Regions from separate parts of the Homo sapiens genome. Here regions 1, 3, 4, 5 and 6 are each linked to region 2. Evidence: promoter capture Hi-C in 16 types of primary human blood cells and fetal thymus (Javierre and others, 2016). All regions are on one chromosome and are shown on one strand. The core of a region is centred on a gene start or on the middle of the fragment in contact, and the rest is flanking DNA. Distances in the headings are between cores, read along the strand shown. Region 1 holds the start of LOC107984635 (a long non-coding RNA gene). Region 2 holds the start of GALC (galactosylceramidase). Region 3 overlaps EFCAB11 (EF-hand calcium binding domain 11). Region 4 overlaps FOXN3 (forkhead box N3). Region 5 has its middle 40 kb from the start of FOXN3-AS2. Region 6 overlaps TDP1 (tyrosyl-DNA phosphodiesterase 1).

Region 1 (4,842 bases), core at 50-2,549, 1.4 Mb after region 2:
AAAAAAAAAAAAGAAAAGAGAAGAAAAAGAAAAAGAAGAAAAAAAGCACAAGAGGAGGAAGGAAAAGGGGACTTTTTTTTTTTTTTTTTTTTTTGAGATGGAGTCTTGCTCTGTTGCCCAGACTAGAGTGCAGTGGTGCGATCTTGGCTCACTGCAACCTCCGCCTCCTGGGTTCAAGCGATTCTCCTGCCTCAGCATCCCAAGTAGGTGGGATTACAGGCCTCCACCACTGCGCCCGGCTGATTTTTTTTTTTTTTTTTTGTATTCTTAGTAGAGATGGGGTTTCACCATCTTGGCCAGGCTGGTCTCCAGCTCCTAGACCTCGTGATCCACCTGCCTCGGCCTTCCAAAGTGCTGGGATTACAGGAGTGAGCCACCGTGCCCGGCCAGGACTTTTTAACTGAATGAAAAGGCACTACTTGCAAAAACTCAAAGTTCAACTTCTATGTCATAATCAACAAAGTATGGTGTATCTTTGTAATAAAAAAATAAATCAACTAGATACTGAACGTCACCAACAGAGTGTAAGTGCCTTGAGGGGCAAGGGACTCTGTTTTCTCTTCTGCTCATAGCACATGGCACAGTGGTAATAAAAAATATTGATCACTTAACAGGAAAAAAAAAAAGTCTCCTTTTTATCCCTCTCTCAAGCTGGCATCTATTAACTCTACAGATCAGTCAGAGAAAAGTAGCCTCATCAACATTTTCCTCCTCCAAAGTTTTTAAGAGATTTTATTGTTTTCCTCTCTTTAGTGAGTACACCAAGTACCATAGTCTCATGGGTTTCGGTGGCTAAGTCTGCCAAAGTCTTATCCACGCCAAGAAATAACTTCTCTCGTTTTACTTTTTCAGAGGGGTGTGAAAGAAAACAATTGATTCTTCTCTCTACGAGAGTCTTTTTAAAACAAAGTAAGAGCTCTGAATTTGATGAACTCTCTGAGAAACAGAATATAGATTAAATGATTACTAACATATTTCCCTGCAGCACAAAGTTCTTTTTTGGAGATTAGCAATTTATTCCATTTATTACAACAGCCAAACCTGAAGTCTCTTTTCATTGGCTAGTCAAGTTCACCAACCCTTTCTGTTTTGAAATCCTCACTCCTTCCCAAAATAGTGTATCTTGTGCCTTTAATATTGAGGTTGAGGTGCAGGCAAAAGGTGTCCAGAAATTGTGAGACGTGACTGCATGTGAGTACTCAATCTTAAAAGGGTCGGGGCTGGAAAGGAAGCAAGCAGGTGAATTGCTAGCTCTTTCTGTGGGTATGTTCAACAGCACCTCACTTCTCTGCACTCAAAGACGTGATTCTGACTGGTTTCAAAGATTTGGCCCCCAAACAACCAGGCGTCCTTTTTAAGTTGGCATTGCTTCCAGAGAGGAATCCTGAACATGTTTCCTCTATGCCTCACACAGCGCCAGGCCAGCTGTCTAACAATATGGGTCCCGGAGGGGGTGCTGCCCACGTTGGTGACGGCAGCCATGAGTGCCTGTTGCTCGCAGCAGACGTCAGAGAGACCTCAGCGCAGGGGTCCAAGCACCTGGCCAAGGCACCCTGCGCAGGCCTCCACGCCCCACGAGTGCCTGCAGAGGCTACCTGAGGACCAAGGTGGGCATGCCACGGTGTCCTGGACTTCTGGATGGAGGCCAGTCCCAGGGAGTGAATGGCAGAGCTCTCCGGAGGCTGCCCAGGCCAGGTTCAATGGGAGGGATGAACTTCATGACATCCGTTCCAAAGAAATCCCACCTGCTACTGGCATGCCTAGGCTTGTCTTCCCCACATACCAGCCTCCCAGGCATGTCTCCAAGGGCTCAGTGAGGAGGCAGCTGCAACAGTTCGCTTTCTCTTAATGATTTGGAGTTGGGAGGCACAGAGATGGGGAAGAGGTAATGACCATTCCCAGTGATCCTGGACCTCCGTGTTGGCTGCGACCTTGAAAAGTCATGCTGTCAACCCCTTTGTAGAAAAAATGCAGTTTTCTTTGTCCGTGGAAATCTGGCCTCGCAGATTTATTTGCTGTAGCAAGTTTCTTTACCCTCATCACACTGATACTCAGAATTGAAACAGTTCAAACCTACCCTGAAACATCCTTCTCCCTCCAAATTCCAGTGACATCCTCGGTCTAAAACGCCTGGCACCATGTGGGAGCCTGGCTCCGCTGCCTCTCAACGCACTGGCTTGCTTTTTGCTTTTGAGTAGCTTGAATATCAAACCAAGCACAAAGGGAATCATACCCAGGAGTTGCTGGAAAAAGCTCATTTCATCCACCTCATTCCCCCATTCTCTCTGGCAGACACAACTGATTTTTTTTTTTTTGAAGCCTGAAAAACTTCTCATTTAAACTTGGGGTGCAAAAGGCATGTGAAGTGGGAGAGTTGCTGCCTGGACCAGCGAAGGGTTAGCCAGGGAAGGATTCAACGAAATACAAAAGCCAACACAGACCTGAAGGGGAACAGGCGGCCCCAGCAACAACTGCCAAACTGTCATTTTGCTCCGCGGCTGAACAGAAGGCTCGAGTAATGACAACCACAAAACTCATTTAAAGTCTGAAAAGGTGACTAATGAGCTCATTCATGCTGGCTATAAATTATTCACTACAACACTGATCCCACTCAAGACAAACAGTAAAGTAAACTTTAAACACAGACATCGCTGGCCTTCCAAAGTGGAACAAGTTATGCCTGTAAAAGTTTTCACAATGAGAGAGATACTTGTCTCCCCCTTGTCTATTGTCACATTCGTTCTTCTGTTTACTTTTTTTTACTGCCTTTAATCAAGTTTAAGCAGACACAGCTGTTACACATTTATTTCTCTGAGTTTTTTTCCATTAGTTATTACAAGCAATCATGATGCTCTAAAAATAGCAGCAAATTATATTCTCTAGAAATTGAAGGCTGACCTTAAAATGAAGCCCAGGTCTTCAGAAAGAATATTCATATGCACATGTTGGATAAATGACAACAATGCACAAAGGCAAAATAAAAGTACAAAGCTTTTTCCACTCTTTGAGAGGTTTTTGATTTGCTTCCAAATTTCCTTTGGTTCTGGTGGAAACAGGTTGCTTCAAAACCTTACCATACAGAACCTGCTTCCAGTGGTCATGATTCCAGTTTGAAGGATTTTCCTTCAAACTTACAATCTTAAGGCAATCAAAGAAGAAATGTTTCATTTAGGCTTTTTCAGCACAGATAAACACAGCAGCAGGTTGCTGAAAACCCACCACATTGCTGCAGACTACTTTCGGTTTCCTGTTTAATATTAAATAAAGAATTTTAGCTCTTCTGTTTTTATAAACTGTGCTATTTGCTACTACTGTCACTACTAAAAGCATTATGACTGGGTGGATAAGTAGTCCTATGATTTTCAAGCCTTCTTTTTTCTTTAATCTTAGTATCTATTTTGAAGACATCGCGAGAGTTAAGAGTCTCAAATCTGTTTAATTGATTTTTTTATTTTTAAAAGGCCCAAATAAGTACTTCCGTTAGCTCTTAGATCTCTGAACATTATGTATTTTTAAACCACTTTGAATACTTTGAAAAGGGCCACAGAAAACACTCATATTCAAATACCACCAGACGGAGGTTCTGCCTAACCAAAAGTAAAAGCAGAAAAGTTTAAAGCTGAATTGTGCCCTGCACACACCTTGAGATTGTAGGGGTGAAATGAATGGTCTTGGGCCGGGGATCTTGCTAAAGGCATGATAAATCATGCGTTGCAGGCAAATTAAGACCCAGGCTCTAACTTGAACCTCAGACTGTGCCAAACTCCATCTCCATTTAAGGAAAATGGTTTTCTCAGTTTCTTGCACATGACCTAAAGGCTTGTCCAGTCATTTCCGTTGTCTGAAATGCAAAGCAATCTTTCTTTTTTAAGTAGAGAAAGAAGAGTCCTGAAATATTTATAGGAAAGTGCTTCACTACCTACTGACAGCAATGTGGTTGGTCTCTACGTGTTTAGCACATTTTTTTTTGTTTGCTTGTTTCTTTGAGACAGAGTCTCTCTCTCTCTCCCAGGCTGGATGGAGTGCAGTGTTGTGATTTCAGCTCACTGCAACTTCTTCAGCTTCACTTGAACCGGGTTCAAGTGATTCTCCTGCCTTAGCCTCCCAAGTAACTGGGATGACAGGCGCCCACCACCACACCCGGCTAATTTTTGTATTTTTGGTAGAGACAGGGTTTCACCATGTTGGCCAGGCCGGTCTTGAACTCCTGACCTCAGGTGATCCACCCGCCTCGGCCTCCCAAAGTGCTGGGATTACAGGCATGGGCCACTGCGCCTGGCCAGCATGTTTTTTATCCATGTTTCTGTAGCTAGTCAAAAGCCATTCTTTTGACCCTCTGTGCAAGAGTTCTTGCAGCTGTTTGTTTTTGTTTTTTTATTTTGTTTCGATATGTTTTATTTTTTTAGAGCAGTTTAAGGTTCACAGCAAACTTGAGTGGGAGGTACAGAGATTTCTCATTATCCACTGCCCCAACACAAGCATAGTGCTGTGGTTGTTGTTTTGAGAAAGAATTTCACTCCTGTTGCCCAGGCTGGAGTGCAATGGCACAATCTTGGCTCACTGCAACCTCCACCTCCTGGGTTCAAGCAATTCTCCTGCCTCAGCCTCCCGAGTAGCTTGGATTACAGGCGCCCGCCACCACGTCCAGCTAATTTTTGTATTTTTAGTACAGACGGGGTTTCACCATGTTGGTCAGGCTGGTCTCAAACTCCTGACCTCAGGTGATCCGCCTGCCTCGGCCTCCCAAAGTGCTGGGATTACAGGCGTGAGCCACCACGCCCGGCTGTGTTGTTGCTTTTTTATAATCAAACAATATGTGATGTAAAAACCCAATTCCAACCA
Region 2 (4,590 bases), core at 69-2,568:
CACAAGTAAAGCTATAAAAAAGATGGGGCCTCACTCCATGAAATATTGGCTGTTTCAGGTTTAGCCCAAAAACATAAAAAGGAGAATAGTAGTAGCAAAGAATAAATGCATTAACTCATCGGCCCACAGGTTTCCCCTGAAATACACATCAGCACGGCTGGAGAGATTGCAAATTAGGGAATGAAAACATAAAAATCAAAAAGGATCAGCTAACTCCAGGGGGAAAAAAATTTCCCCTAGCAGAAGGTTATATCTTGTGGTCACACTACAGACCAGGTCATCCTTGCAGCAGGCATTCAAGCTTGTTCTGAGTTGAATGTAAGGATGCAAGCTCCATCCAACTCAACCCCAAAAATCCGAGTTCAACCTTAACATTTTCAAGAAACATTAGCCCTAGATGTAATTTCGGATACAAAACCAAAAAACAAAAACCTTCTCACCCAAAGGTCGGCCACCATGAAGCCCATGGGCCCAGAGGGAGTACCCGGTAGTTTCAGGCCGCTCGCTTATCTTCCTTTTAAAGAGACCTTGAGGCACCAGTCCTGCCTCCAAACGAAATCCTATTCGGCGCTACCCTCTCTGGAGGAGCCCATTCTTACCCTGCACTAACAACTGCACGGGACTTAACGACTCCACCACCCACCAACTCCTCCAAAAGGGAGAGACACAGCCAAAGCATCCCACTGGGGCGTTCTCTTTCGCACACGGACGCTCCCGCACTCCCTGGCCCTTTCTGGAGCGACGCTCCCCGACTGCCATCTCCGCGATGAAGACAGCCTGTGCCCCACTGCCTGGGACGAGGGTTCCAGCCCCGGCTACTTCACTACTTAGACCTGTCACTTTACTCTCTGCACCTATACTCTCTGGACCTCCGGATCCTCATTTGTTCAAACCTAACTGCCTGTCTGGTTCGTGTTAAACGAGAAAGCACCCGCCCCAGCCCCGCAGCGGGCCCGCCCCAACCGCCTGCTGACTGGCACCCTAGGGGAATGCGGCGGAGAGTGGAGCCGGTGGAAACGCAGGGCAACGCCGCGGGGGCTTGTGGGGCTGGCCCCACGGGGCGGGCTCTTGCCGCCCCCCGCGTATCCCCGCAGCTTGCCGCTCACCCCGCCGCCGCTGACCGCGCCGATGCCGTCGAACTCCCGGCCCAGCCCGTCGGAGTCGTCGAGCACGTACGCGCCGCCGGGCGCCAGCAGCGCACACAGCAGCAAGGGCACCGCGGCGCGGCCCGCCGAACCCGCGGCCGCAGTCATAGCTTTCGCTCGGCGTTGCCAGGAAGCCGAGAGTAGCCACTCAGCCATTGTGTGGGTCACATGACTCCGGCGCCCAGGGAGGCGGGTCCCGTCGCCGCCACGATAGATACGGGCAGGAGGCCGCTGATGCTGACGCCGCCGCCGCCATTTTGAGTGCGGGTCAAGGGCCTCTGACGCAGCTGGCGGAGTGTTGAGAAAAGAAGCAGCGAGCTTTTTCTTATCGCTCGCGTGTCTGTGGTCAGCTACTGGATTTCACATGTACTTACTGCTGGCTTCTCTTCCGGCGTCACCTGGTGGAGCACTTTAACGCAGGGAAGGTGGATTCCAAGGTCCGCCAAAGGAAGAGGGCCATGAGTGGCCCTACCATGGCTCTTCCCCAGCATCTCAGGGAGTATCTACCTCGTGCGAGGACCAGGCTTGGACACCAGGTCCCGATTCCATTGTCATCTTGGTGGAATCACTTTGCTTTTGGAGCCTGAGTTTTCCCTTATGTGAGATGAGGCGAGAAGAGCAGCAGAGTGAGGGACTGAGAGAAAAGTTAATAAGCACTCAGTACATTTGAATGCATTCCACAAGTGGCAAATAGCTGAGAAGGTTCTCCAGTCTGGTAACTACCCCGGCATATTCAAAGCTTTTAGCCTTGAAGGAGTTAATAATATACCACCTCAAAATATGCTGCTGTGGCATATTGACTATTTTAAATTAAAGGCACTTAAAAACAGCAGGTGCAAGATCACTGTCATGGATATTATGTGTCTTAAAAGGAGGAGATGAAATTCCCATGTGAAAGATGTCTTCCCTATAAAATAACATTGTTATCTTCAAGGACAGAAAGTTGAAGTCGAGGGAAATCTGTCCAAACAAAATTTGTTAATCCCTATCTTTCTAGTCGCTTCTTTACCCCAAGCCCCTTCGCCTTATCATGTTTCACAACTACTATTTTTTGTCCATTTCACTCTATAAGCAATTGGCTCTTAACTGCTGCTTTAGGTCTTTTTTTTTTTTAATGAGGGCCCCCGTGCTATGTAAAATAAACATTTGTGTGGTTGTCTCCTGTCAGTCTATTAATATCTTAAATCAATTTAATACTAGGGCCATGCTGGGACCCTACAGGGACGAAGGTGAAATTTTGCCTCCCCTACAATTTTATAAACTATCTTCCACTGTCAGTTGAAGTGATTCCAGACAGGTAACTCTAAATTGGTAGGAAAGTTGTGAATTGCCCTGAATTTCTGCCACATCCAGCACTGTCCTGAGATTTCTGATTTCCTTGTTATTGAAGTAAATTAAAGAGACTCTGAAGAGCTGCAGAGAAAGATTTTCTGATCCCCAAATTTCTCTTAGCAGAAGTATGGAACTGGTTATCATTGCCTACACAAGCCCCTGAGATACCACAATGGCAAGGAAAAGACCCAGAGACTTTAGGACCTGTGGGATTTGTCTGCAGAACCCTATTTGGAATCTGATTATTTTGCCCCTTAACCACAAACCTAAATCTAAGTTTCAAGAACTCAATTATACTTGAAGGTCAAAGCTCTGGGCAATCCAATAAATATGCACATTAAGAACCCGATATCCCTGGGTTCTTAATGTACATTAGATATGTTTGTTCTTTCTTTCTTTTTGAATTGACTCTACGTCTATCCTGGTTTACTAAGGACAGTCACAACTTTTGTCTAAACATAATTACTGATAATGCTCCTTTCACCCTCAGTAGTCTTCTGGCTTGGATCAGTTAAATAGTCCCCTGTGTATGAACCACTTATTTTCTTTGGTTTCTTCTTTCCCCAGTACAACACGAATCTGAACTCTCTGCCTTGCCACTGCAACCAGTTTATGATGCAAGTCAGTAATTTTCAGTTCTGTGGATTTACTGTTACAGAATTCACTCTGATCCATTTGTTCTAACACAGTATTTTAAGCATGAGCTGGAGCTCCTGTGGATACAAGCCACAGTAACCATTCCATCAAGTGAATGTTAAGCTTCTCTTACCAGCTCTTAACAAGCGCATAAGACCCACTTAATACCGTGACTAGATGGGAAATACCAAGGTGATGACAGAGGAAACTACCTTACACATAAAACTAGGAAGTTGCATGACGATGTATGAATACCCAGCATACACCATCCTGTAGTACGTCATTGTGAAACGGGTCAGTGGTCAGTGGTCTCGTTGTCTGAGGTGTTATCCAAGCTTGTTGTCTCACAACCAAGAGAATTAAGGAGTGTGGACACCAGAGTGAGGTTGAAGAGAAAGTTTATTATATGAAAGAAGAAAGCTTTCTTTCTTTGCCATTTTGCCACTTTTACAGTTGAATCCAAAAGCTTTTATAAGAAACTCCTCTCATCTCTGTAGCTGTTTGTGTAACTTACTTGTAAAGCTATCTGTGCAGCTCCCCTTATCTGTGCAGCTGTGGGTATGTCTTGGGTAAGGATAAAGTTCAGCTTCTCTTGTTTGTGTAACTGTGGGTTCTAGGTAATCACCCTCTCCACCCCCATGCAAGTTCCCACAGAGCCCACCATGTATGTGCCTGAAAAGGGGAAGAAACTTTTTCCTGGGAACCTGCTAATCACACAAAGAACAAAAGGCTTCTATGTTGGGCCTTCCTTTCTTATCAGGGCAGCTGTTGCCTGAGTTTTCCCCAGGCCACTCTATGTGTGCCTGTAGCTTGATTTTTCAGGCTGTCTTTCTGTTTAAAAGAATTTTACCAAAGACCAACTTTAGCTGTCTGCCCAACTAAGTTTTCCCTTTTCTCGTCCCTCAATTGCACCTTGTAGTTGGAATGCACGCCACAAATATTTGAGCAATGTGTGAAGTCTACAAAAGAGGAAGCATAAACTCTAATGGAAAAGGTAGCCTCACTTCCAGGAAGTCCCAGTAGTTCCTATTAGTTCAGTTACCAAAGAAATTGCTTACCAGATAAATATTTTTTGTTTCTAATTTCTGATCTATATTCATGAGAGCAGACATGAGGTAAGAAAGTTTCTAATAAAAGGCCAATAAATACATGCTGACAGAAATCCTTGGAGTGCTGGGCACGGCACTCAAATGTGCTCAAGATGTGAGATAAAGAAAAATGACAGTTACCCCACGAGTGATCATATGCTTAGCTTCCCTTGCGTCTGTGGATCAGGGTCAGTGAGATAAGACGGTAAGAAAGGAAGGTCCCAGTTTTCAGATTTTAAATGAGTTTAAAAAGTAATGACAGTGTTTCTCTCTCTGTCTTTTTAATCTGAAACACTTCAAGAATTTGCATGTCATCCTTGCTCAGAGGCCACACTGATCTCTGTAACATTCCAGTGTTTGTAAATGTGCTGCCAAAGGAAACACGATGA
Region 3 (4,588 bases), core at 1,705-4,204, 1.9 Mb after region 2:
TAAGAAATATATTACCTGTGTCCCCTCCCACCCCGCCTCCAGAGGAAGAATATGTTCAGAAAATTCTAATTTCAAATACAATGTTGAGTCATTTGTGCACACTGTTCCACTACTAATAGTTACCTAAACATCCTTTACCGTGGTTACAAATTAGCATCACAACCTTAGGAACCACACAGATCTATGTGTTTATCTGTGTTTATTATTAATATGTCTGCAGAAGGTATTCAGAAATTGCCTGGGTCATTAGACTCTATCAATAGTTGGCAAACTATTTCTTTTTTCAGCTGTAGGAAAGATTCTTCTTTATATGAAAATGGAAAGCCTCATGTGTAGAGGAGATGAAGGAAGAACTATTTGGTTTGAAGTGGGTGGGCTTCCCATTCTTCCCTATCCAACAGTGTCTTTGAATGTGTCCCCAAAGGATCTAGGATTGAGGTTTGTGGTTTAAAGACCACTGGACCAATGATCTTTACAAATCCTTCTTGACCCTGCAAGTCCATGCATTTTTTTGTACAACTGGAAAACATCTCCTTCCATTTTATAAACAATCCTTGGTAAAATGGACTCTCTTCATGTTCTATAACATATATATATATATTTTAGATGGAGTCTCACTCTGTCGCCAGGCTGAAGTGCTACAGCGCGATCTTGGCTCACTGCAACCTCCACCTCCTGGGTTCAAGCGATTCTACTGCCTCAGCCTCCCGAGTAGCTGGGATTACAGGTGTGTGCCATCACACCCGGCTAATTTTTGTATTTTTAGTAGAGACGGGGTTTCACCCTATTGGCCAGGCTGGTCTCGAACTCCCGACTTTGTGATCCGTCTGCCTCGGCCTCATAAAGTACTGGGATTACAGGCATGAACCACTGCACCTGGCCAACATGTACATATTTTTTAGTTTCCAAACTACTTAATACATGTATATATATCTATGACAGATATATATATAGAGAGAGAGAGACTAGAAAGATTATTTTTTTTTACTTGTTTGTTTTTAAGCAGTTTCTTAGGAGGGTAATCATCTTTCACCACAGGGGAAGATAAATTCAAAAAGTCTAACAAAACTATATAAATTTTTTACTTGAAAGTTCCATTAAGTATAGTTTTTTGTGGTTCACAGTTCTAAGCTTCAGGGTCAGTGCACACAGAGAAATCCTCTTGAAAATGAAGGAGTCTAGCATCTGGCTATCACAGTGAGCTCAACTTAGAAACTGCAATAAACCTGGGGAGAGTGAAGGAGAAAACAATAAAAATCGCAAGTTATTTGGACAGTAAGCCTGGTCCTAGATTTAGTAGAAAGGAAGGGTTCATGTTCATTGTGTCACATATTGATTTTTCCAGGAGTTAAAAAAATGCTTAAAAATTAGGGTTTAAAAGGATGAAGCAGTCTTTCAAAAGACATAATGCCTTCTCTAGTCTGAGACACAAAATTCAAATTATGACTTTTGGAGGCCATGACAGTGAAGGGGTGGGAGAAGGATATAATGTGTTCGCACAGAAAGACTGCAAGGATGGTAGGTGAAAGTGACTTCAAAAATAGTGAGTTGTCACCTATGATAAATGAATTCAGAGGATAATATTTTCTTCCAGCTTACTATGGATGTGTAGGGAAATAAAGAGAAAATAATCTACCTTAATGGAAGAAATCAAGTTTTACTATATAATTGGAGGGAAAATGAGTAAAAACAGTTAGAGGCCAGGTGTGATGGCTCACATCTGTAATCCCAGCACTTTGGGAGGCCACGGCAGGCAGATCACCTGAGGTCAGGAGTTAAAGACCAGCCTGGCCAACATGGTAAAACCTTGTCTCTACTAAAAACACAAAAACTAGCCAGGTGAGGTGGTGCCGCACCTGTAATCCCAGCTACTCAGGAGGCTGAGGCAGAAGAATCACATGTTCACCTCCAGGCTTGAACCCGGGAGGCAGAGGTTGCAGTGAGCCAAGACCGCGCCACTGCACTCCAGCCTGGGCAACAAGAGCAAAACTCCATTTCAAAAAACAAAACAACAACAACAACAACAAAGCAAAAAAAAAAAAAAAAACCAGTTACAGTAGAATAGAGAAATCTGAACCAATAAAATCTTATTTCTATCAAACCCAGGCAGGAATTGTTACTTTTTTATTATACACATCTCCTGCTCATAAAGCTTAAAAGGTTCCTCAGTGTCAAACACCACAAAGTCCTAATACCTTATTCTGGACTTTAAAGCTTCATCCTTCCTTCCGTGCACACCGGTCCTTAATCCTTCCCAGCTCTCATCATGCCAGCTGACTCGGCTGGACACAATTCATTTATAGTTACATACTATATTCCTTGCTGTTGCAGAGGTTAAAAAAAAAAAGTAAAAATCCAAGAAGAGTAGATTCTGTTAATGGGAGGACTGCATTAACAGCATGATAGCTGATATATTTAGGTATGCAAATCTGAGATGGGCGAGAGATTTGTAAAAGAACAGGGATCTAGGAAGAAAAGATTTCAGGCACTGACGTGGACAGCACAGAAGAGGGTCTCTGAAGAACTCTACACAGAGAGCACAGCACCAGCAACAGGAGCAGGAGGCGGGGCACACAGCTGGCACCTGCCCTGCATTCATTTACCGCCTCTTTTCTCCTTTGCTCCATCACTATTTCAAATCCCACCCATCCTTCAGCATGTCCAGCTCCAGGCCCACACCTCCTCTAGGGGGCAGTGCTGCCCTCCTGAACTCTTATAGGTTTTCTTGCCTATAATAGTAATATAACATCTGGCCGTAAAAGAAGTGGCAATATTTCTTTCATCTTCCCTATCACATAAGATATATACACATTTTTTGATGGAGTCTTGCTCTATCGCCCAGGCTGGAGTGCAGTGGCGGGATCTCAGCTCACTGCAACCTCCGCTTCCCAGGTTCAAGCAATTCTCCTGCCTCAGCCTCTGGAGTAGCTGCAATTACAGGCACCCACCACCACGCCCAGCTAATTTTTGTATTTTTAATAGAGACAGTGTTTCACCATGTTGGCCAGGCTGGTCTTGAACTCCTGACCTCGTGATCCACCTTCCTCGGCCTCCCAAAGTGCTGGGATTACAGGCGTGAGCCACCGTGCCCAGCCCACATAAAATATATATTTTTAAATGTCTTTAGGTCAGTGTCTGTGTCTCCTAATTCTTCCCCATCTGTATAGTGAAACATATTCACTGTTTTCTAAATGGGTAATTAAATAAACATGGATGGGTGAATATCTGTAGGAGATTCCATAAAATGCTACGATTATAATTTCAAAATAAGGTAACCTTAATGTGTATGCAGTTTCCTGATTATAGAAAAGAACTAAGAAGCCAATTGAAATCTGAAATCAACCAAAACCTTCATCCCTGCTATACCCTGATCTTTGTTCCATAGGAGCCAAAATAAAAAACCATACACAACAGCAGGTGTTTTATGACAGAAACTAAGACCAGAAAAAGGATATTTAAATTTAGAAAAATAATACCTTTAATAGTCAACTGTCTTGTTTAGAACAAGCCAGACAAGATATTAATAAATAAAAGCATGCAAGCCAACTGACCATTAACCTACTCATCCACAAATTATTTTTCAATTGGACCTTACACTGGATAGCAGTCACACAGTCCATAATTACTGCTATGATGAATCAATCGCTTTGATTTTTCCATCATTCAAAGTTGAGGGTTAAAAGTAAGTTCCTGGAAAGCTTTTTCAAGTATCAAAGTAGAATATGTTCATTAATTTAAAATGGCAATAGTATAAGGAAACAGAAAAGATGCTCAATCTAATCGCCTAGTGAAAACAAAATTCTGAAGTCCTTTTTTCTGGTTTTTAATCTTAGGCATATTTTACATAGATCCGAGATAATAACAAAGAGACAAATGTATGAGGATTCAGTGGGACAATGCTCATTCAGTTCTTATTTATAGCTTTTAGCATAAAGAAAAGCCCTGTAAATCTTAGCTGTTGTTATTTATATAGAATGATCTACAATTTATTCTGGAATAAAGTCAGACCACCTGAGATATGTATACTTGGAACACACAGCCTTTGCCCTTCATAGAATTGCCCTGACATTAAACACTGGTCTACATTGAGAAAAGATGAAGCAACAGCCTTACAAAATTCACTACTGCATTTATTGAACAGCTCATCGACACTGACATCCACTCAGCAGCCTCCCCTCCATGAGACATCACAGAAGAACTATCCCAGGGCAGGAGGACTTATGCCTCTCTAGAAAAATTGTTTTGTTGCATGGACCCTGACTGCAGCTGTGCTTGCTCGTGTTTTCCTATTTGTTCTGGATGCTAGGTAGTCCAGAACCAAATTTGAAATTAATGCCTAACAACTATAGAGAACATGGTGATTTGTTTTTCGTGTATTGATTCTACTCCTGACTTCAACTCATTGATTCATAAAGTTCCTTAGGGGAATGAATACTGGCCTCGATTTTGTCACAATTAGGAGTATGACCCATGGCACTATTAAAAATCAAAGGAAGGGCTCATCAATTGGTTAAGAGGGTGAGCTAGAAGGTCGGATCACGTTGGTCTGGTACTTACTAGCTACCGGTGCCACTCTGGGCAAATTATT
Region 4 (4,322 bases), core at 1,471-3,970, 1.3 Mb after region 2:
CCTAGTACCTAATACCCATTCGATGCTTCGAGAAAAACTATAGAAACATCTATTCCTCTCCTGGAAGTGAACTGAGGCAAATAATGTTGCTGAACTTCCATGATAGCATTAAATTCGAAGAGAACATAGTTTCAAAAGAGTAATGTCACTTCTTGGCCATAGTTATGTAACTATGAGGGTGTGTCCATCAAGCTTTACAAAATGTGGTAGCACACCATGCCTTCTCAGCACCTTTCTTTCTGGGTGTAAACAGTTACGTATGATTGTGAGGGTTTTGCTTTGTTTTACTTTGTTTTGTTCTGTGCTTCCCTCTTCTTTGAATTCCTATGGCGAATAAAGAGGACCACACAATTGAAGCTTTAAACATAACCCGAAAAACCTTAGCCTCCTGAAACCTTTGGAGGAAACTGACTCACACACATGGGCTGTGCTTCTTGGTGCTGGGTCATTGGGCTCACCTTTGCAAGTCCCCTGAGCACACACAGGCCACACACCGCTGCCAAGGCTCGTGCCTTCCTCTTCAATGCTACCTGGCCTGAAAGCTCCTGAAGGATGTGACTTATCCTCCAAAGCCACTTGCAGAGCCCAGTACCAATCGGGTCTGAGAAGGTATGCTACTTCTCTCCCTTTCATCTGCCCTTCTCTGTCCACCTCCACCCTCTTCAAAGGCTGCCCACCTCCGCCCTCTTCAAAGGCATTGTTCAAAGGAGTCACAGGCCACCAAGTTTTAGTACTGTGCTACAGCTTAGCCTTTCCAGGGAGGACACTTTATGTGTAGGGCATTCTTTGCCTGCACTAAACTGCTACCACTTCATATACACAGATTCAGGGACTTTTGCTAGCAATGACTCCACTTTAATTTGTGTATAATCCAGTCAATCGTGTGCTCAAAATGACTCCTGGCTCCCTGTGACCTGTGCCACTTCCAGGTTCTTTAGCACTAAACAATTGGCTCCACTTGCTCCAGCTTCTCCTGCCACCCCTTGTCTTTTAGTTTTTTTCGCTCTGACAATACCAAGTTGCTCATGGTCCCTTGGAGACACCAGAGCGCCTTTGACCTCTGTCATTGCTACTCAGTTGCCCCTGCTTGGAATGTCCCTCACTCCCTTGTTTTCTTTGCAAACTTTTATGCTGTCTTGAAAATACTGCTCCTCCTGTCTTCTTCCTGCCTCCCTCCATGCTGAGAGCAGATCCTATCTGTCTTATGCTGTCTCCTTTCCATGAAACACAGGGTATTATAAGTTAGTTATTTATGGAGCTAGACTGTGAGCTCTCTGAAGACACTGACGATCTGATTCAGCTCATGTCCCCAGGAGCTGGCATGGAGTAGGTGTTCAATAAACATCTGCTAAAAAAAAAAAACAAAAAAAAAACTAGCCCTATAAAGTATATAGGGCTGGTATTATGATCCTCATTTTGCAGCTAAGAACACTTAATTCAGAAAGGAAAAGTCACTTAATGAGGGTCGCATGGCTAGTAAGTGACTCATGCTCTCTTCATTGCCATGATGCTTACATAACTACCTCCCGTTTCCTGCTGTCTCTTGAGTTTGGTGATCTACAGAAAAGAAAAGGAAAACTGAAGAAACAATACAAACACTTCAAAAGTTTAATGGATGTTTCTGAGCATCTATACATCGCCTTCTTCTCAGAACAGACATTGAGGACAGTCCTATAATTCACTATTATCAGTGTATCTACTTTAACTTGGAGCCCAGGCAACCAAGCACTAAATTAACACTGCCCTGTCTCTGCAAAGGTGATGGGGGACAAGACGCCTTGTAACTTTGAAGAAGAGATTTACACACCCCTGTGTCTCCCATATAAATGGACTCAAGAGCTGCAGCAGTCCATAAATGATCCTTTCTTTCCACTGTTGATAGTTGAAGGCAGCCGTTTCCAGCTTCTTGCCGGTGATCACTCTGCTAAAAATAGCTTTGATGCTGTCACATGCAAACTTGAACAGAACCTGAAAGCAGTTCCCCTTTTAGTTCTGAGCTGGTTCAACTTTAAAAGAGAGGCAGCTGTGAACACACTCCAGCGTGTTTACATGATGCTGAAGTAGTTCAGCTCGTAGTAAAAATACCACTGAAAAGGGACAGGCTTGGGTTTGCAGCCTCTGCTGACGACATTTCTTCCTGCTGAGCTGGAGCCCGGGAAGGGGCGGGAAGGGGCGGTAAGGTTAGCAGGGAAAATCCAAAATGTCCAGTTTGAAGGGGAAAGTGGCTGTGAGCAGAACCGCGGTGAAGACAGGAGAGAGATGTTTGTTGAGATGTGAGATTTCTGACTATGGTGGAGGTGGGGGCAGGAGAGGCGGCAAAGATCATATAGAAAAGAGAACTTAGACAACAGGGGGTGCTTTTTAAAAATTCTGTTAAAAATATCTAAGGGCTGTTTTTTTAGAAATCAAGGAAACAAAGGATGAAATACATTCAACATCTTGGCCATTCATTTGATACCTTATGTTGGTTTGCTGGGCAAATGGATGATTCTGGATGTGTTCTGAAAACTGGGCCCAAAACTAAGGATAAAGCAGAGTATGGGCTTGGAAACCAGAGAAAACCTGGGCATTCAACCCGGCTGCTCCTCGTCTGGCCCCCATAAAACTTGGCTTAAGCACTGGTGTCTCCCAGACCTTCTGCACAGAGCTGGGAGTTAAGTGAGAAAATACACACCGAAGTGCCTGGTGGAGCGGGGGACCCTGACCCATAATAGACAACGTCCTTTAAAAACATATACCCAGAGGAGAGGAAGCTGACAGTGATCTGCGGACAAATCTGGAATACAGTGTAGTTTCTTAAAAAAAAAAAAAAAAAAAGTACCAACCAAATAAATAGTGTTTTTTCTTCCTTCTTAATTCTATGTGGCCAAAGCATGACTCACACTATATTTGCTTATGAAATGAGAATTCATTTTACGAAGTTGTCCTAGAAAACTTACGCTGAGCCCGGCTGATCTGGAGGGGACGAGAGGAAGGCCTGGCCAGCACCAGGACGGATCACACAGGCCGGGTGCTGGTGTCTGTACCCACTGAGGGCCACTAGGAGATGGGAACTGAGGTCATCGATGGTGAACTCGCGGCTCCTGCTTAAGAACCAGAATCCTGACTTCAGACGTTTATGCTGGAGCTTCACATATGTTTCAGAACCCATCGTTCAACAAAAACCTCAGATTCATCTTAAGAGCCCTTGAGAAAAGGACGCCTCTATGACATCACTGTCCTACCCGATGAGTTTCAGTACCATGAGCAGATGACATGTGACCCAAGTACGAAGTGAGCAGGTTCTCTAAACAAGCTATAAATTTGAGCAGCACACTGAGGTTATATTAGCATAGGAATTTATCACGTAAGTTATATGTTTGAACAACAGAACAGACTTAACATACTGCTGTATCTTTAACTATCATTTTTTGTTAACAAGACAAAAGAATTTACAGTTTCTGCCAACTGTTTTGTTGGCCCCTAATACCACGATTAGCTGTTGCCAGGCAACCATGAAGCATGCTTCCTCCCAAATCAGGAAGACCCACTGCTAAATCTAGACTAATTATAAAAGGAGACAAATATTTAAAAGCCTTATATTTATGAAGGATTTGGGAGGTGCCCTGATAAGAATGATTCTTATTAAACGGATCTAACTAAATACAATGCATATGTCTGCAGTGCATTGTCACAGGTTTTGTAAAACAATTTAGGAAAACTGAATGTTTCTGCAACTTTCCTAATTTCCCTCAATAGGATACTAAACAAAACCAGGTGTTTATAATTTGTGGAAGCATGTCTTTTGCCTACTTCTCTAAGAATAAGGATGAAAAGAAGCAGCTGAGAGACCTAAGCCTTTTAAAATACATATATATTTGCAAAGAAATTATGAGAACACCACCACCATTTTCACAACCCTTACAGAGCTATGTGCATATAATGCTCAGCAGCTTTCCTCTCAAGTTTCTGCCTTTGTCTGCATTCTCAATTCCCTCTATTTCAAGAGTCATTTAGAATTCTCTGTGTGGAGAAGAGTTTTTCAGTCCCTGAGGCGAGCCTCCTTGCCATCAGCACTAAACTGCTGGTGGCAGGCTCCAACAACCGGAGTTCTAATGTCTAGAGACCCTGCTTCATCCCCAAGAGGGGAGCTGAAGAAACAGAAAAGCTCAACACACACACACACACTCACAGACACACAGACGCATGCACACACACACACACACACACTTTGGTTCTCTTTTTTTTTTTTGAGACGGAGAGACGGAGTCTTGCTCTGTTGCCCAGGCTGGAGTACAGTGGCACCATCTCGGTTCACTGCAAGCTCCGCCTCCTGGGTTCAC
Region 5 (4,442 bases), core at 685-3,184, 1.6 Mb after region 2:
GAAAACTGAGCCCGATCTCAATACTGCCATTTCAGAACAATCTCATCATTGAGGAGATAATGTGAATATATTTGATGATATGCAAATATCATCTGTGTGTTATCATTTTACTCAACACTCAAAACACTACTGAGTCTGCCAAGCAGATTTATATAGCTTGGCAAATTTTCATTTCATGAATGACACTTCATATGAAATTATTTTCACTGACTAATAGAATAACAGTGATAGAACAGATCTTGAGGTGGAAATAGAATAAAGCCATGCATTTCCAGCAAAATTATAACCAACTAATCTCAAACACCTCCATATGATGTTCCTATAATTTATAAATAAAAGGGGCCCTGGTTTATAAGTAACCCCTAAAAATATGCCTTCCCTCTCATTATAGACTGGGCCAGGGCTCTTTCATGCTTGTGGTCAGTCATCTTTTTCTGTATGTACGTAGGCTTCCTAGGGTACACTGTATTACGTCACTAATTGCCACCTTTTTCCTGCTCACTATGAGCACAAGCAGCCTCTTAAATTGTCAAGGCAAAAGTTCTCTCTTTCGCTAAGAGGTTCCAGGGCTCTGCAAGCAATTCCCCAAGGTCTTCTCTAGAGAACATTTTAGAAGCAGTGATTTGCAAACTGTGTACACAGTGGTACTGGGTTCCAGAGTGTGCCCTGGGCACAGCCCAGGTGACAATAGCAGGCTCTGGGCTCCTAGTTCCCTCAGAGCAGCTCTGTTTTTATTTGACTCATATATTAGGGTCTTGCATAAGATTCTATTTGTTGCTAAGTAGAAAACAAAAATGATGTCTATGAAAATGTGTGCAAACCATTGCAAGAAATGGTTCCGTCTCCCTCAGGCACTCTTAACCTCCCTCACCAGGCTGCTCTCTGCAAATGGAGGCGGATGCATTTATTTTCCTTTAAAGAAGCTTACCCTTTTCTCCTCTTCCCGAATTTGAAACATCTAGGAATTGAAGCAATTAAATATACTCATTTTCAACATTCAGAAACTAATCCAGACTTCTGCACAGCAAATCCTTTCAAAGTTAAAATTTGTTTTTCTCATGTGTACTATAAACTGGATTTAGCCAACCCATCCCCAATTTCGATTTTTTTTTTTTTTTTTTTTTTGCTATCAGCAAGGTTGGCATATACCTAACGTGTATTCTTTATGGACCTTTTGTTATAAGCAATGAGAAGAATGAAGCTGCCTCTTTCTCTTTACCTCTCTACACTAATCCAAAATCGACACTGGCATTTGGTTGGTATTCTGGAATAATTATTAGAAATTTGGCATAGCCATCCAAAAACAGCAGCTTCAGTGAGTGTGTGAGTAACTAGCTGACAACTGAAAATGAATTGGAATTGTATTGAACATCTTGTTCATTTGTATTAGGAAAATAAGTTGCACATGGTTGTACCACGATCAATTTTCCTAATTCCAAAATCAGAAAGAAATAAACCTAAATGCCACAGGTTTGCAGAGAATGAATTGTACCACTCCAAAGCCCCTTTCGAAACGAAGTGTTCTGAGCCAACTATTTGCAAGACAATAGAGAATGAAGGTAGATTCTAGAAACCAACAAATCCCATTCATTTCCTTCAGTTTGTAAAAACAAGCAACTGACATGTTTCCTGCCAATGAACACACTTGCAGATAAGAAAGCTCCCTACAGGAAATCCTTGCTAAAAGAGACCAGTTGTCCCATTAAACTTAATCTTCTTTACCAAGTCCTAATCAGTTAAATATCTGGGTGATTTAGCATATATTTCATAATCCCATGTTGTCAAATATTTAACTTCTACAGTATATATTTCTACGACATACATGCAGAATATTAAACATTAAAATAGAGTTAGGACTCTCCTCCTCCCCACTCCCCATGCAATTAGTTGATGAAAATAAGGGAAATTTGCTGCTTTTTAAAAAGACCAAATTGTTAATTGAACAAGTTTTAAAACTGACCATTATCAATTAAGATAAAGCTATTCAATGCTTCAAATTGCCATGACTTAAAGGAAGACGTTTCTAAATGAATATCAAGAACATAAAATCTGAAGACTGCCATTAACAAGATTAGAAAAATATAAGAAATGTATTTGCTTTATATTTTACAAGGTTCGATGTTGATCCTCAAAGTCAAAATTTAGTACAGGGCCTCTGGTTATTTTTTGCTTAGCAAAATGAACGGGGTTGGGGGTGGAGGCTAGGGGGAGGGGAGGTCTCCAAACTTTTTTCTTTATAGTCCTCATGGAAATCATTACCAAGATACTGGAAATATTTGCAATTTTGATACTGGGAACGTCTCAATTATCCTAAAAACAAAAGCACTCTTCCCCATCCACAAAAGAGGAAACTTTTCTATTTAAGTCAACTGGGTAATAATAATGGGATTTTTGAAACAGTTCTTATTTTCATTTAGATTTTCCTTTCCCTGGTTAGCCTCTGAGAACACCCTCTCTTATATTTCCCAAAGTACCAGGCAATCTTCATCCCTCCCTTTCACTCCCCAACCCCACCCCCACCACCCCACACACAAACGCAGCCTTCAAAATGCCACCAGTCTGTAAGTTCCATTGCTTGAGTTCAACTTTGAACCCTCTTGTAAACACAAACACCTCATTATAACTTCCCCCGATGAATCCTCATCCACAGGTAACATTCTAACCTTTCTGGCTCTCAAAAGAGTTTTGTTCTAACTGTAGACATACAAGTCAGTTTGATCCCACAATTAAGTGTTCAAATACATTGTTCTTAGCCTTCCCTTGCACAGCTCAGAGGTAGCAAAATGCAAAGTAAGCCTGGGGGCTCATCCTTAGTTTAAGGCTCTTTCCTCAAATATTTCCAACAAAAATACAGTTATGAAATCTAGGAGACCACATTTTTGGTTGTTGTTGTAAAATGACCTTGATTTGACAGGCGCGATCTCAGGTTTCAACAGATGCTGTGGGAAAGCTTACAGAAGCCAACAAGTTCTCCAGGCATCTGTGATGACATGCAGGTTTTGTTTTTGTTTTTGTTTTTGTTTCTTTTTAAGTGGTGGTCATGGTAGAGTATGTATGTGTAGTGGGGGTGGGGTGGGGTTACTCCTCTCGGTTTCCATAACAACCATGTCTCCACTCATCGGTTATTAGATACAATCCACTTCCTGTGTCTAAATTTTTAAGCCAATCAGAAAAGTGTTTATACATTTAACAACTTCTGGGACAGTGCTTCTTTAATGAAATCGCTTTAAAGGCTCAAATGAAGATGTTCATGGGCTTTACAGTTTGTCTTACAGATATAACATTTCACAGTGTTTACTAATTCATATTCTTATATGGTGCAGAATGCCCTTCCTCTTGGATGTGAAATGCATTCGCCTCAAAGCAGATGCCACAATCTCTCAGAATAGTGTGCAGGCTGATTTTGATTGTTTGCTTTTCATTGTCTTTTCCTTTCACTGTCACAGTTTTAGACTTAGTGCATGAAACGTGCTAATGCACAAGGCACTTAAATTATCAAAGTAATGATACAGTTAAGCATCCATCTACTGATGGTCCTTTTTTTAAAAGACTCAGATCAAAACCCGGTTAGGAATCATTATTCTAAGTTGAACAACTTTGCATTCTACAACTTATGAGCAGAAATCATTGAGAATGTATTGTAAAGTGCTGTGTATACGTGTAAGCTAGTAGCTGACGTCTGCAAAGAAATTTGTCACCAAAATGGCCTACTTTATGTGGATAGAAACAACAACAAAAAATTAAACATAAAGGTATCTCGAGCAAACTGCACCCAAATGAAAAACCGACCCTGCAGAAATCTGTGCACAAGAGGGCTATCTGAAACTACAGCACGATTTTAAAAGAAGGTTTTGGGTGACTGTTTTCATAAGTCTCAATCTAACTGACCAATCAGTGTGAGAGTTAAAGTGGGCTCCAGTCATTCGTGCAGCCTTCAGAGCTCTGCACCCTCCGAGCTGCTCTCCTCTCCAAGGCAGAGTCGGCGATCAATGAAAAACAGGGAACAAAAGGAATATAACAGGATGTCTTCCTTAGCTAAGGAAAACGATTCCCTTTTTCCTCAATGAGCCAGTCGCACCCTGCCTACGACAGCTCCACACGGGAGCTTCCAGCAGACCAGTCCTTTCGGGTGAGGCACATTTTACATTTGCAATCATGTGTCCCAACTGCTAGCAAATGTGTCACCTTAAGCACAGCCTGTGACGGAGGGCTCCCCGAGCCCAACCAATTGAAACTAATAAATTAAATAAATTAATAATCCCACAATTAAAACCTCCGGAGAAAGATTGCATTTCCCTTCCCCAAATGTCATCCCGGGAGTATAAACAAAGCATGAAAAATAGTCTCTTCAGCCTTCCCAGCCGGCAATCATGGTTTTCCCCTCAAAACAATGTTTCTCCAAAAAGAGAAATCTTCTTATTACCCTCAGTGGAAACTCATCT
Region 6 (4,958 bases), core at 429-2,928, 2.0 Mb after region 2:
TAAAACTGTATGACTTGATTACAAAGCACTCTGAAATGCTGGGCACCAGAGCCTCTATGAGGGAAGTAAATTCTGTTACTGGTGACCAGTTATCCAAAGTAAAAGTTTGATATTGGTGTTTACTAGCAGTTCTTTTCCAACTGGGCGGGAGCCTTGATGTCATAAAGAGGTTGGTAAGCTGCTACATTTAACAACAAGACACAATTTTATTAGTCTGTTGCACTAAATTGTAACCCAATAAATTGTATTAGGTTGTAATAAGCAACTCAGGCATATTTTTGAGTTTCAGCAGGTCCAAAACTTTATAGAGCAGAACCCCAAAAAAAGGCTTTGTTCTCTAGAAAATGTCTTTTTTAAAGCTTTGTTTTATTTTTTATCCTCTTGTCCTACTTTGTTGGAGGGAATTCCACTTCCATATGGTTTTAGAAAATGGAGATAATGATAAAACTTAAAAACCTTTGAAATTCTCTAAATAATTCACAGAGTTGCTAAGGATTTTACCTTAGCAACTCTTAGTACATAATAATGTACTTAGCACAGAATTCTCAGTGTTTGGAAATTCCATTTTATTTATATAATGCAGGCAACCATATTTGTTATGGTAGCCTCTTAAGATTCTGCAACTGCTTCTGAGAGTGGAAGCTGAATCCTTTCTCACCAAAAACTAAGACCTGCTACTTACTTTAGAATGGGCAAGGTATCTATAGAGAACAGCCTGAGGACTGTAATGGAAGATTCTATTACTCACCGCCTTGGTTTAGAACTGTTGTAGAATTCAAAGGAACCTAGAGCTGACATTCAGAGAGTGGTTTTTCCTAAGGTGGTTCTTTTGTTCCTAGATAACTTTAAAGTCACGAAACTGTAGCCACTGAAATAGTTTCTTCAAAGTGTATTGTAACAGCTTAAATACCCCTATCCAGCAACTTCTAGACTCTAGAACACTAGAGGAACCTAAGGTTTTGTGGGTTTTTTTTTCAAACCGGAAGGATTAAAAACATTTAAAAAACCACCTCTGAGCTGCTTAAGTAGGTGTTGAGTAGTAAATCAATCTGAATCTCTTTCATGGAGGAAACTGGGCACTCAGACCCCTTTAACCATGACAATACAGTTCTACAAACCCAGTTATCTAGTTTCTTAACCCTTAGCAGATTAGAAACAATTTAGGGAAAATATACCTATGCTATGAGTTTTAACAACCCCTTGAAGTGGGCTGGACAGAGTGTAGAAATAAATAGAAACTTTTAGAAAGCAGATATGAGGGCTCAAAAGAGCCAGACAGTCTAGGGTCACTATTACAGGAGCAAGTGGCCCCAGCCCTCTCTACAGTCAATAAGGCTTTGGCTGTGAGATAGTGTGTTCATGCTGGGTAGGGTAATAATGACCCAGAGCCATGAAGAATGGGCCAGATTATTGTCTTGATGCATTCTTGCATAAAAGTTCCTTGAAATGTGTAATTTACAGAAGGCTTGCTTAACTTGACTGGTAGTTAATTGAAAAAGGTGAAGAGAGAAATTGTGAAAAGGGATAGATACCTTTAAAGTATTTCCAACCCTCCCCTGCCCCGCCCTGCTGTGTTCACTGAAAAAATCATGAGATCTATACATTTAGAAAGGAGAGCTTAGTTCTTATAAAGGGCTACAGCCTGCAGTGTGGCCTGACAGGCTGGGAAGCACAGCCTCAGGCAGAGACCTTTAATGGCATCCCAGGGAGGAGAGGGTAGAACAGAGATTTATACTGAATGGGTTGGCCAAGTATAGTATTCAACAGGTGTGGGAGGAGCTATGAATATTCACCAAGGGGGGACACGTGTGCATGTGTAATGAGCAAACGTGTGTTTTGTGCATCTCGTGTTCACTTTGGGATGGAGACTTAACATTTGAATGAATTACAATTAGGCCCTCTGTCAAAAGGTGAAGGAGAGACATGAAGGCACTCAGTGCTCAGCCTCTGAGGACTGGTCAGAACCAGTCTGTGGTTTCTTTTCAGGAGAAAGTTACTCCATTGTCCAATGACAGCTGCAGTCATGGCCTGTGGAACCAGAGGGGTCAGTTAGTCAAGCATCTGGCAGTAGGTGAGCTGCAATTGTTTAGATATTCCTTATCTCTAGGCCAGTGCTTATTTAGCTGCTGAAGAAAAAAGAACCTTGTGGAAGGTAGAACATAGTTTAAAGGTAGCAGTGTGTGATTTAACCCTTGCTTGGCATGGCCTTAGGTCTTGTTTATGATTTAGTGTCATATTGTCACAGAATCTATTCTGCCAGTCTTACGATCTCTGGTCAGTTGTGTTTAAACCGCAGAAGGGAGGGGATATAACAGGCATGTCTGAGCTCCCATCTCATCATGGCCCGGAACTCAGTTTTTAAGGTTTCTCTGGGGTCCCCTTAGCCAAGATTTTTATTTTTAGTTCTCATCTAGAGACATATGCATATGTATTGATTTGCAAATCTTTTGATGTAGAATAATGTTGAATTCTCTTTTTTGGGGAATGTAGGTTTTGTGAAGGGAGTGTCACCATCTTGGTTTACTCCACTCAATGCATCTTTTCCAGCCTCATTAAAACAGCAGAAACTCGAAGATACTGTTGATCTGAGCACAGACTACTGAGTTTTGTAATTTTCCCCTGGGTCTTGTGCTAAAATGTTAAAAGTATCACATTGAGGAACTGTTCTTTAGCTGTCTGGAAAGTCTACTTAGATAGTCCTTTACCACTGAATTGACAAGATTTGGTAGGTAACAGCAAAAGTGACTGTTTCGTGTACTTTCCTGTTCTCAGAACAAGAAAGTAGAATTTGACTGTGGGGCTTAAAAAATAAAAGTGTGTTGCTTCAGTACAAGTTATTTCTGTGTAGGTGTTAGTAGATTTATGATGTAGCCAATAGGATAATTATATCTTGATATAATTATATCCAACTAATTATAATTAGTTGGGTCCTCATGGAAGTAGTGTAAATAATGTACATACCTAAGTGGTCATTTGGCTTTCCTCTTGAAGACTTTGTTAAGCTTTATGGTAAATGGGTTGTCTTTTGGGAAGTAAGACATACATAATCACTGAAGTCCTGTGGGTGCCTGTACTTGGGTGAAGGCTAGGTTTGTAAATTCCAATTTGACCTTAAGCATTTGAACATAGATTAAATGGACCTTAATCCCAAACGCTTATTGGAAGTTTCGGGGTCAAGAATGAATGTTTGTTTTATTTTGGCATTTGTCTTGATGCATTCTTCAACCCCCTTTCCTAGGACATCTAAGAACAAAGTTTAGATTGAAAGCCAAGGCCAGGCATGGTGGCTTATACTTGTAATCCCAGCACTTTGGAAGGCCAAGGTGGGTGGATCTCTTGAGTCCAGGAGTTCAAGGCCAGCCTGGGCAACAATAATGAAACCCTGTCTCTACCAAAAAAAAAGAAAAAAAAAATTAGCCAGACGTGATGGCGTGCACCTGTAGTTCCAGCTATTCGAGAGGATGAGGCAGGAGGATTGCTTGAGCCCAGGAGGCAGATGTTGCAGTCAGCTGAGATTGAACCACTGCACCACTCCAGCTGGGTGACAGAGCGAGACCCTGTTTCAAAAAAAAAAAGGAAGAAAAAAGAAAGGTGACCAGGACTTTTGCTTGTGATTTGGCAGAATCTGATAGTGGATTCTGGTAATGTGCTTATAAACACCCAAAAAGCAGCTGATGTTAGGTGGTTCAGCCTCTGGAAGGTGTCAGCTCATCTGACAGGGAAGTTGAGAGCAATAAAGTTATTTTGCCAATGCCCTGATGAATGGGAAATGCTGATGTTTCCACTTTTCATTTCCAGGAGTATAATGTCTCAGGAAGGCGATTATGGGAGGTGGACCATATCTAGTAGTGATGAAAGTGAGGAAGAAAAGCCAAAACCAGACAAGCCATCTACCTCTTCTCTTCTCTGTGCCAGGCAAGGAGCAGCAAATGAGCCCAGGTACACCTGTTCCGAGGCCCAGAAAGCTGCACACAAGAGGAAAATATCACCTGTGAAATTCAGCAATACAGATTCAGTTTTACCTCCCAAAAGGCAGAAAAGCGGTTCCCAGGAGGACCTCGGCTGGTGTCTGTCCAGCAGTGATGATGAGCTGCAACCAGAAATGCCGCAGAAGCAGGCTGAGAAAGTGGTGATCAAAAAGGAGAAAGACATCTCTGCTCCCAATGACGGCACTGCCCAAAGAACTGAAAATCATGGCGCTCCCGCCTGCCACAGGCTCAAAGAGGAGGAAGACGAGTATGAGACATCAGGGGAGGGCCAGGACATTTGGGACATGCTGGATAAAGGGAACCCCTTCCAGTTTTACCTCACTAGAGTCTCTGGAGTTAAGCCAAAGTATAACTCTGGAGCCCTCCACATCAAGGGTAAGAGGATGCTGGGTGTCAAGGAGCTGTTGAATTGCCCTTGAGAGTCTCTCCTCCGTGAAACAAGGAGGGCAGCCTAGAATAGTTTCTGAGAACTCTTCTTTGTGTTCTTAACTACTTTCAGGAAAAAAATTCTTGACAGGCAAGTGCATTAGTATAACAGCAGACTGTTTACTTAACTCAGGCAGAGCGTGTGTTCTCAAAACCCTGTAGCTCAACCCCTTATATCACTTAGCACGATGTTTAGCATTATTTAACTTTTTAAGATGAAGCTTGATGAGTAACAGTTTATCAACAAGGTAGCAAATACTTGACAACAGTAGTAGTTCTCCATGGGCCCTGGACCAGCAGCCTCAGCATCACCTGCAACTTGTTAAAATGCAAATTCTCGGGCCCCATTCCCGATTCATTAAATTGGACTCTGAGGGTGAGATCCTGCAGTCTGTGTTTTCACGAGCCCTTGAGGGGATTCTACTGCCCAGTCAAGTTTGAGAACCACTGCTTAAAAGCCTGGTTTTAGTTCCTGGTGAAGAAGAAGAAGAAAAAACAAAATAGTGCCTGAGTGCAAATAGATGTTTCAGTTATGGATCAAAA

Evidence for each region. Contacts are between HindIII fragments. The CHiCAGO score rates a contact against its expected background, and 5 or more counts as called.
Region 1: a fragment that was not itself captured here is called in contact with the fragment with the promoter of GALC in region 2 in 1 of 17 cell types (fetal thymus); the score reaches 5.7 in fetal thymus.
Region 3: a fragment that was not itself captured here is called in contact with the fragment with the promoter of GALC in region 2 in 1 of 17 cell types (fetal thymus); the score reaches 7.1 in fetal thymus.
Region 4: a contact is called between a fragment that was not itself captured here and the fragment with the promoter of GALC in region 2, in 1 of 17 cell types (total B cells). The highest score is 5.2, in total B cells.
Region 5: a contact is called between a fragment that was not itself captured here and the fragment with the promoter of GALC in region 2, in 1 of 17 cell types (fetal thymus). The highest score is 7.5, in fetal thymus.
Region 6: a fragment that was not itself captured here is called in contact with the fragment with the promoter of GALC in region 2 in 7 of 17 cell types (total B cells, activated CD4 T cells, naive CD8 T cells and 4 more); the score reaches 11.4 in total B cells.

The regions. Positions count from the first base shown.
Region 1 is chr14:89,427,230-89,432,071 of GRCh38, forward strand. LOC107984635 (a long non-coding RNA gene) reads left to right here and starts at 1,125. Exons shown (of 2, transcript XR_001751025.2): 1 at 1,125-1,191; 2 at 2,109-3,843. It also overlaps a transcript of FOXN3 not described here. RefSeq lists an enhancer at 1,275-2,474. The HindIII fragment of the contact is 3,380 bases long and covers 1-2,989 here.
Region 2 is chr14:87,991,864-87,996,453 of GRCh38, forward strand. GALC (galactosylceramidase) reads right to left here and starts at 1,319. Exons shown (of 17, transcript NM_000153.4): 1 at 1,107-1,319. The coding sequence starts at 1,301. It also overlaps the pseudogene RNU6-835P. RefSeq lists a silencer at 987-1,176 and enhancers at 1,132-1,632, 1,327-1,656. The HindIII fragment of the contact is 1,583 bases long and covers 300-1,882 here.
Region 3 is chr14:89,936,942-89,941,529 of GRCh38, forward strand. The region is part of intron 3 of EFCAB11 (EF-hand calcium binding domain 11); the gene reads right to left. Among named protein-coding and RNA genes, the nearest start is that of EFCAB11, 15 kb to the right of the region's middle. The HindIII fragment of the contact is 1,484 bases long and covers 2,213-3,696 here.
Region 4 is chr14:89,302,147-89,306,468 of GRCh38, forward strand. All of the region lies in intron 3 of FOXN3 (forkhead box N3), which reads right to left. Among named protein-coding and RNA genes, the nearest start is that of FOXN3-AS3, 46 kb to the right of the region's middle. RefSeq lists enhancers at 1,570-1,639, 1,670-1,729, 1,830-2,029, 2,943-3,212. The HindIII fragment of the contact is 4,731 bases long and covers 356-4,322 here.
Region 5 is chr14:89,614,014-89,618,455 of GRCh38, forward strand. It overlaps a transcript of FOXN3 not described here. Among named protein-coding and RNA genes, the nearest start is that of FOXN3-AS2, 40 kb to the left of the region's middle. RefSeq lists enhancers at 531-620, 2,878-2,937. The HindIII fragment of the contact is 2,027 bases long and covers 922-2,948 here.
Region 6 is chr14:89,959,310-89,964,267 of GRCh38, forward strand. TDP1 (tyrosyl-DNA phosphodiesterase 1) reads left to right here. Exons shown (of 17, transcript NM_018319.4): 3 at 3,799-4,364. The coding sequence starts at 3,806. Among named protein-coding and RNA genes, the nearest start is that of TDP1, 5.9 kb to the left of the region's middle. RefSeq lists an enhancer at 3,567-4,766. The HindIII fragment of the contact is 2,643 bases long and covers 358-3,000 here.